3 separate regions of the Homo sapiens genome follow, and all the other regions are linked to region 3. The links are contacts of gene promoters, found by promoter capture Hi-C in human tissues and cell types (Jung and others, 2019). All regions are on one chromosome and are shown on one strand. Each heading gives the region's core, a stretch centred on a gene start or on the middle of the fragment in contact. The rest is flanking DNA. Distances are from core to core; before and after follow the strand shown. Region 1 has its middle 55 kb from the start of SLCO1B3. Region 2 overlaps SLCO1C1 (solute carrier organic anion transporter family member 1C1). Region 3 holds the start of SLCO1C1 (solute carrier organic anion transporter family member 1C1).

The links. Contacts are between HindIII fragments. The study calls those that stand out against the background at their distance.
Region 1: a fragment that was not itself captured here is called in contact with the fragment with the promoter of SLCO1C1 in region 3 in 4 of the 25 tissues and cell types used here (dorsolateral prefrontal cortex, hippocampus, mesendoderm cells and 1 more).
Region 2: a contact is called between a fragment that was not itself captured here and the fragment with the promoter of SLCO1C1 in region 3, in 2 of the 25 tissues and cell types used here (liver and mesendoderm cells).

Annotation. Positions count from the first base shown.
Region 1 is chr12:20,754,766-20,757,545 of GRCh38, forward strand. No RefSeq gene overlaps it. Among named protein-coding and RNA genes, the nearest start is that of SLCO1B3, 55 kb to the right of the region's middle. The HindIII fragment of the contact is 7,970 bases long and covers 1-2,780 here.
Region 2 is chr12:20,738,043-20,740,742 of GRCh38, forward strand. SLCO1C1 (solute carrier organic anion transporter family member 1C1) reads left to right here. Exons shown (of 15, transcript NM_017435.5): 12 at 2,142-2,326. Among named protein-coding and RNA genes, the nearest start is that of SLCO1C1, 44 kb to the left of the region's middle. The HindIII fragment of the contact is 7,849 bases long and covers 1-2,700 here.
Region 3 is chr12:20,693,935-20,696,634 of GRCh38, forward strand. SLCO1C1 (solute carrier organic anion transporter family member 1C1) reads left to right here and starts at 1,398. Exons shown (of 15, transcript NM_017435.5): 1 at 1,398-1,873. The HindIII fragment of the contact is 14,433 bases long and covers 1-2,700 here.

The DNA.
Region 1 (2,780 bases), core at 146-2,645, 61 kb after region 3:
CAGAGCAGTCTGTTTGAGGCATTTCTTGAAGCCTAAATCCAACAAGAAGGCCCAGCTCAAAAATATGGCAGCCTCACTCACGTTTCCCCATTATGTTGCCTTCGAATTCCTGAACTCAAGCGATGTGCCTGCTTCAGCCTCCCCAGTAGCTAGGGTTAGGACTACAGGTGCAAACCACTGCTCCTTCAGGTGAAGTGATCATACAGTACAACCAAAATCATTTGCATTCTTTTAATTTTCCCTTTATATATCAATCTTGCAAATATGAATGGGAAAAAAGGAGATAGAAAATTTGGAGTTGGAGAAAGAAGGAAATGTTCTCTAAATGTATATTAACTTTGTCAATTTATTTGAATTGGTGATGCTTGTTTTATATTTTGCTATTTTTGAAAATAAAGACTTTTTAATTTTTATTTCCAGTTTTGCTTCCAGCAGGCCTACTTCAGACCTGCTGCTCCCCTGCTAACTTGTGAGCAAGAATCCTTTTTGTCATCCCTGTATGAATCTTACCCATAATAAATATTTACTGATTGGGGTGAGGAGTACACTTGTCAAGAGATTTCTTTGTGGAGAAATAATTTAACTTCAAATTCTTCATCCTGCCTCCTACATGCTCTTTATTTTTCAAGGCTTTTTATCACAATATCTTGAAAAATAACTTCTTTACAAGTAAATTTCCAAACAGAAGAGTTTCCAATTTATTCTTGAATAACTTGAAAAATAAAAAACACAAAGGATGAATAAATGATGATCTTCTTATGAAAGAACTGAAGGTCAATTTAAAGGAAGCGTATTTTTATGCACAACCATTAATTTTAAAGTGGAATTACATACATTAAACTCAGCTGTATAACAAATGAGGGTATCATTTAGTGGGAAATTGAATTTACTAAGAGGAACCCTCATATTTTAGATAAGTAAACTCATTTGACAGAGGTAAGCAGACTTTTTATGCCTCAGAAAGCACAATTAGTTCTTTATTTTTTAATTAAACCAAACTCCTTTTCAGAAGTCAAGGAAATTCCCTCAGTTCCAAGACCAAACTTTTGAGGTAGAGCTGTGATTGATGTGTAGGATCCCACAATTGCTCCAAGTTCAATGGCAACATTATTCTCTTATTTTGCAGCCATGGCCCCTAAAGGTGACCAGCATCCCCACTGAACATCTGATTCACTATAACCTTCAGACAGGTAAAGCTACAGCAATGTCATTTTATAGGTGGAGTGACTTAAATTGGATTAAATGACTTCCCCAATGTGGGTGTGTGCAAGCCAATGCTGGGTTCTTTCATTACATCATGATTTCTATTAAAAACTAAAAACAATCTGAAGCCTCTAAAAACTGCTGGAAGAAATGTGACCATTAGCATTTATGGAATTTACACTTAAATATTACATACCTATACTTGTACATAAAGAGAGATTCAAGAGATAAATTGACATATACTTGAGACTTGACATATACTTGATAATAATATATTCACTATTATATTAAATGAAACAATTTATATTAAGTGCCCTCTGTATGTGTGCTAAATGCCTTAGACATTCTCAATTTTAAAGATTAAAATAGCTTTATGTGTAAGGTATTGTTACTGATATTTTCAGATAAACAAACTGAGGCTTAAAGAGTTAGTGATTTGTCCAAAGCCAGTGAGTTTTAGCAGTTGGTGGAGCAAAGACTTAAACTGGAGTTTATCAGCTTCAAAAAGCCATGTTGTGCCTGCATTAATCTATATCCCAAATCACTGGCTTTCACTAACTCTGCTAAAAATCAAAATTTGGACATCGCAATTAGAAAAGTTTTAACACACTAAAACATATACATCGTTTAAAAAATGAAAAAAAAAATTGAAATGAGAAGTAATAGTCCTCTAGCCCACCTTGACTTCTATTCCTCAAAGACCTCTAACCCACCTCTAGCCCACCTTGACTTCTATTCCTCAAAGGCAACAACTGACTACTCACTAGTTTAGTTTGTTGGCTTTTCTTTTCCTGTTTCTTTTTTAAAATGTTTATTTTTAGAAACAAGGGTCTCACTATGTTGCCTTTGAACTCCTGGGCTGAAGCCATGCTCCTGCCTCAGCCCCCCAAATAGTTAGGACTACAGGTGTGAGCCACTGTGCCTGGCTTGTTTGTTGGTTTTTTCGATGGTCACTTTCATATCTTTAAATGTATACTCATATGACTACTCTTGATTTACCAACTTTAGGCAATGTCTGTTGACTGTCTACTCTGATAGATTGGTACTAATGTCACTCACAAATCCTCCATTGTTCTTCTGTTACCTGTACATAGTAAGGTCACTAAGTACAGAGGTCACTATGTGCATTTTGCAAAATGAAAAACTTAGAACTTCCTAACTTCTCTCCAGGTCTTCAAACCCTCTTCCATCTCCCTCTTTATGCTAACTGTACCTTTACTTTTACATTGTTGAGAACAACATTTTTAGTCAGCTCTGTAGTCATACTAATCTAGGAAAGGCCTGAATAATCACCATGAAGATCAACGCCATCCACTCTCCATGGTATGAAAGCTCAGCACTTGAAAACAGAATGAGAGAGGGTAAAAAAAAAAAAAAAAAAAAAAAAAAAAAAAAAAAAAAATTGAGGACCTACTACGTATCAGGCATTAGAGTCATATAACATTTAAATATTAATGTGTAATATTAAAATGTGTTTTCTGTCCAAATAATTTTGGAATATGTTGAGTTAATGATAACACTTATAACTGCAGAATCATAGATTCTTTATTATGATGGTGTACATTGTTGAACTTCTG
Region 2 (2,700 bases), core at 43-2,542, 44 kb after region 3:
GCAGAGAGCAGACAGGGAGAGACAGGTCTCCTGTCTCTTCTTATAAGGGCACTAAAATCACATTCATGAGGGCTACACCCTCATGAACTAATTACCTCCTAAATGCTTTACTCCAAATACCATCACATTGAAGGTTAGGATTTCAACATATGAATTTTGGGAAAATATTCAATCCTTAACAGAAAGCAATTGTGAAGGATGTAAAGTACTTCAATCATTAACAGATTCACCCTTCTCAGCACACCTTTCCATTCCTGTCCCAAACAGACTCTTCCTTATCCTTGCTCTCTGAGACTGCTTTCTATTTGTGACTGATTAAATTTGCCTTTATTTGACAATCCTAGAGGGCAGAAAATTAGACCACCCATGTATCTCATTTATTTATATATCCTTATCAACTGGATATGAATACTTAGGCTGTATATCCACAGATATACAGTTAAGTTTGTTAATTTACTCTGTTCATTGTATTATTATTTTGACTTATTTACAGCAGAAAGGATTGGTTTCTAGCAACAATGAATAAGACTACCTACTCATCTGAAACATGTTTTCATGCTTCTCTTTTTTTCTTTTCTTTGCTTTCTTCCTTTGTTATTTTTCTTTCAGCTACTGTTATTTTTGCTCACAGCTGCATGAAGGTTTTTTTGTAATGAGAGCTACCATTTATAAAAGACATTACAAGGAAAGGTTAAAGATTGGTGTTAAAAGAACAAAATTACATTTAAATCTCATGGTCCTGAAATAATTTGCATTATTTTCAGTATTTTCTTCATGTGAGAACTGAGGCACTGAGATACAAAGGACTTGCTTAACTCATTTATCTAGTGAGCGACCAGAATTAAGATTCAAAGGTTTCAACTTGACATTACAAAAAATCTATATTGCCACTCTTTCTAGAAAAGTAAATGCCAGCTTTATTTATGGTCTAAAAACTCACAAACTCTTTTGTGATTAAAAATGATAACATTATATATATGCATTCATAAATAAAATTTACAGAAATAAACTATTGAGGGGTTATACAAATTGTCTCTCTTCAGTCAAAATTTAGTTGAGTTTTATGCACCAGAATTATTTTTTTCTCATAGCCACTGTAAATTATGTCATATCCTCAAATTGTTCCCATTTACTTAACTAAGTTTTATCAAATGCCTAAAATGAGAGTCTATTCCATTCCCCAGTTGCATAATAACAAAGCAGCAGTTTCTGCTTTCATGGAGGTTACATTCTGTTGGGAAAGTATGTTTTAAAAATAAGTAAATACAGGATATCCTGATAGGTAGTAAGAAGCACTGTAAAAAAAAGACATACATTAGAATAAGAAGATGGAGAGATGGGAGTTGTTTTTTTTTGTTTTTTTTTTTAAATGGATAGTCATAGAAGGTCTCTATTAAAACCTCTAAACGGAGAACTAAAGTATGGACGCCAGCTGTGTAATCACCGAAGAGAAGAGCTGCCCGGGCAGAGAAAATAGCAGGGCCGTGAGGCATGGATGAACTTGCCAGGTTTGAGGGGATGTTTGGAAAGGGCAAAATGGGGCCTTTGCAAGGGTCATGTGTGTGGCTTACACAGAAGAAGAGAGGGAAGATCACTGAATGGTGAGATTAGAGTGGCATCCAGGTGCTACATGATGGAGAAAGTGTAAACTGTTATAAGGATGTGGGGTTTCATGCAAGTATGATGAGAAACCACTGGCAGGTTGAGGGTAGTGATGCAGTCTGACTGCCATGTTTAAAGGTTCACTTTACTTACTGGGTGGAAAGCAGATACTAGCTAGATAAGATTGGAAACAAGTTGCGCATAAAGGGAGCATTGTAACAATCTAGGCAAGAAATCATGGTTACTTAGCATTGGAAGTGGTAGCGAAGGAGGTAAGGTATGGTTAGATTAGGCAGGATTTGCTGGGAGATTGTTGTACAGGATTAGTAGTTTGTAGATAGTCATCTGCTCTTTAGATAATGAAATGTTGTATCTATATAGATTTTGCTTTGCTCAATATACTGTAATACAAAAAAATAAAAGAATATTTCCTCATTGTTTACATAATGCATGGCTACGGTAAACATTTTTAACATAACTGTCTTTAACTTTATTTAAATGTTACTGAAATAATTGGACTTTTCCCTATCGTGTTACAGATATTTTACAACTGCACTTGTGTGGGAATTGCAGCTTCTAAATCCGGAAATTCCTCAGGCATAGTGGGAAGATGTCAGAAAGACAATGGATGTCCCCAAATGTTTCTGTATTTCCTTGTAATTTCAGTCATCACATCCTATACTTTATCCCTAGGTGGCATACCTGGATACATATTACTTCTGAGGTGAGTACTGATTCTCCCTATTCTAATTTTAACACAAGACACAATCATCTCGAGCAATGATTTAAATTTTTTTCTGTGGAGTCTATGATTCCTCTTAGTTTTTTCAAGAAACTTGTCCCACATCCTTGTTTCACTTTTATATATATCGCACTTTGGGTATTTATACAAAAATGTGGCTGAATAGAAGTTTTCTTAGTTAAAAATGTTTGCAAACTATTGGTCTAGGAAGCAATGTTAGTTTCTACATCACTAGAGTTGCTTAATAAATACAGTATCCTACTTCTAACGCTGGTGATAATAATAATTAGCATAGGTAACATGCATTTTAGATTAAATATAGTTTCACCAAGTCATGGGAAATAGAATTTATAAAA
Region 3 (2,700 bases), core at 148-2,647:
TGCATTCATTTATATGTTGTCTGTGGTTAATTTACCACCAGAATGGCAGAGGTGAGTGGTTGTGATAGAGATTGCATGGTCCTACAAAACCTAAAATATTTCTTATTTGTCCCTTTATAGAAGTTTGTTAACTCCCTCATCTAGAGTTTGGAAATGGGAATGAAAGGCTGAAGTAGGCTACAATCCAATGCAAGGTTGCACATAAGAAGCTCTGAATAAGTGTAAACATTATGTGCATTCAAAACAGTAACATTAACTGTGGACTCTGGAAATAAGAAAAGGAATCGTGTTGGAGAGTGAGACTGAGCCAGTTGGGAATAGACAAAATTACATTCTCAAGGGAGAATTTCATTTCTTGGTGAGGAAAATTATGCCCTTTGGGCTGGTAAATACTGTCTCCTCTTGAATAAAACAGTGGTCTGGCCACCTGTTAGACACTGAGAAGTCTAGACTAACACTCAATGTATTCGGATGTTTGCTCACTATTTCCGATGGAAAAGTCTGGTTTGATTGTTAAAGTAAAATATTTGGCCTTTCAGAGTGTGAAAACACCATTGCTTCATTGCAAGGTTTAATATAAACCCATTTTTCTTGCATTTTCTTTTCTTTCTTTTGTAGTAAAATGTGCTTGAATAATATTAACTATTCTGACCATTATGTGAACTAAATATATATATATATAAAATGATGATACCTTCCGCTCATTTGCAATGTGCTTTTGAATACATTATATAATTTAATCCTTAAAACAGCCCTATAAATCTGTTTTTTTTTTTTTTAAACAAAAAAATTCTGCTTTACAAAGGAAGAAGTTGAGACTCAGTAAAATTAAGTGACCATCCCAGAGTCTCAGCCACTTAAGAGTAGGGTGAATCTTGGATAATTCTGGTAGCAAATTTATTTATTGGTAGAAAATAAATGCAAACTACTACTGCTTAAGATCCTCTAAAGTTTTTCTCTTGGAAAAAGAATGTATTAGAATTGTGGACTTTCTCAGTGCAAGGATTTATTTATCCTTGGAATTAGGCAGAATAAACAATTGAATGCCAAAAATTCAACGTGTTTCTTTTCTGTTTTCAAAACTCATAGAAATTGTAAATATGAGCAACTGATCATGTCTCTGAGAATTAACTCTTTTTGTACAGAGCGCTGCAGAGCTTTGATTGTGACCTGATACTTGGTCCTTAAAGATTCTAGAACACCAATGGAAAAGAAAACCATGTAGCAAATTAGCCCAAGAACCGTTAAAGACAAAACAAAACAAACCAAAACCAAAACACACAAACAAAGAAAACACAAGGATCCCAGTGATGTCCCTAAGGAATAGTTGGCTTAAAAACTTTCTGGAAGGAGGAGGGGTCTCTGTTATAAACTTCCGCCCTCCTCTGGCTTCTGTTCCTTACCCTCTGCCCCCTGCGGAGTTGTGTTTTCTGGGAATCAGCAAGTAAGATCACAAGTGGTCTTTTCTTTTATTCACTCTCTCCCATAAAGAAAGCTTTATCACGTGTGGCCTTAAACTTGCAGCAAATTGCAAAGAAATGGCTCAAAAGCTTCAGCTCTTTCTGTGCCCTGGGAGCTGAGATGCACGTCAGTGGCCTTGCCAGCGTGGCCAATTCTCTGCTGACTGCCAGAAAAAAGAGGCCAGGAAGAAAGAGGAAAGAGAAGAGATCGCTCAGGGGTGAGACCATGCCCTTCATCTTTTCTTTTCCCTAATCTCCTCTGCTTGTGTCCACCCACACTCTCCCCACCTGGCAAAATTGTTCAAAATTGCTGTGGAGTTTACCTCAGTTTCCTCTTTCAGTCTGTGGTGTGTGGTCCATCCTCTTGCTGAGCACATTGAAAGGAACTGGCTATCTTTGATCTCTTCCTCCAGGTAAGACTTGGTTCTCTCATTTTATATTTTGTGACTAATACATCAGATTCTTATGGGAGATTAACCCTTAATTTCTGTGCGATTTATGTTTTATCCATAAAAATATCAGTGAAAGGTGATGATCCCCTCATTAGTTTGATGGAAATAAGAGAGAAGATTGGTTAAAGAAATCAGATAAACTCAAATTTGAGTTCAAATTTTGAGTCTCATGCTTATAAATTGTTTAGCTTTTGACAAGTCACTTAATTGCTTTGGGCCATCTAATTTAAAAAATGGAATTCTAATATTACGTTTGTTGGGTTGTTTTAAGGATTAGAAAAAGTACGTACATTACTCAACACAAAAATAGTACTTATTAAATCTGAATCTGACACAGATAATTTGTATTAGGTGAGAAATTAGTTTCTAAACAACACACACTCCTCTGCAGCAAGTGCCGTGAGGCTATTTTTTAGTTTGTCTGAAGGGAGGCATCCTGGTGTCCAGAAGTCAAGCCAGGACAGAGGTTTTCCTCACAGGAGATGGCCAAGAGAAGAGAGGGAGGAGCGTGGTTGCCTTTAGGACTTTCTCTGTGGCAGTCCTTGGGGACTGATTGCTGGACAGAGTCCGAGTCAGTTGCAGAGCAGAGGGGTTGAGTACATCTGCGGGATCTAACTACAACCTTCCTAAGCCACTTGCTCTCTCCATTTAAAATCTGGAGGGCTGATTTTGAAACTAATGAGGACTGATTATTCAATGTTTTTGAACCAAAGGAAGAGAAACTGCTTGGCTTGTTTTTCTTTGGCCTCCAGAATAAGTTATGCTCCAAACCCAGGGTATTGGATGAA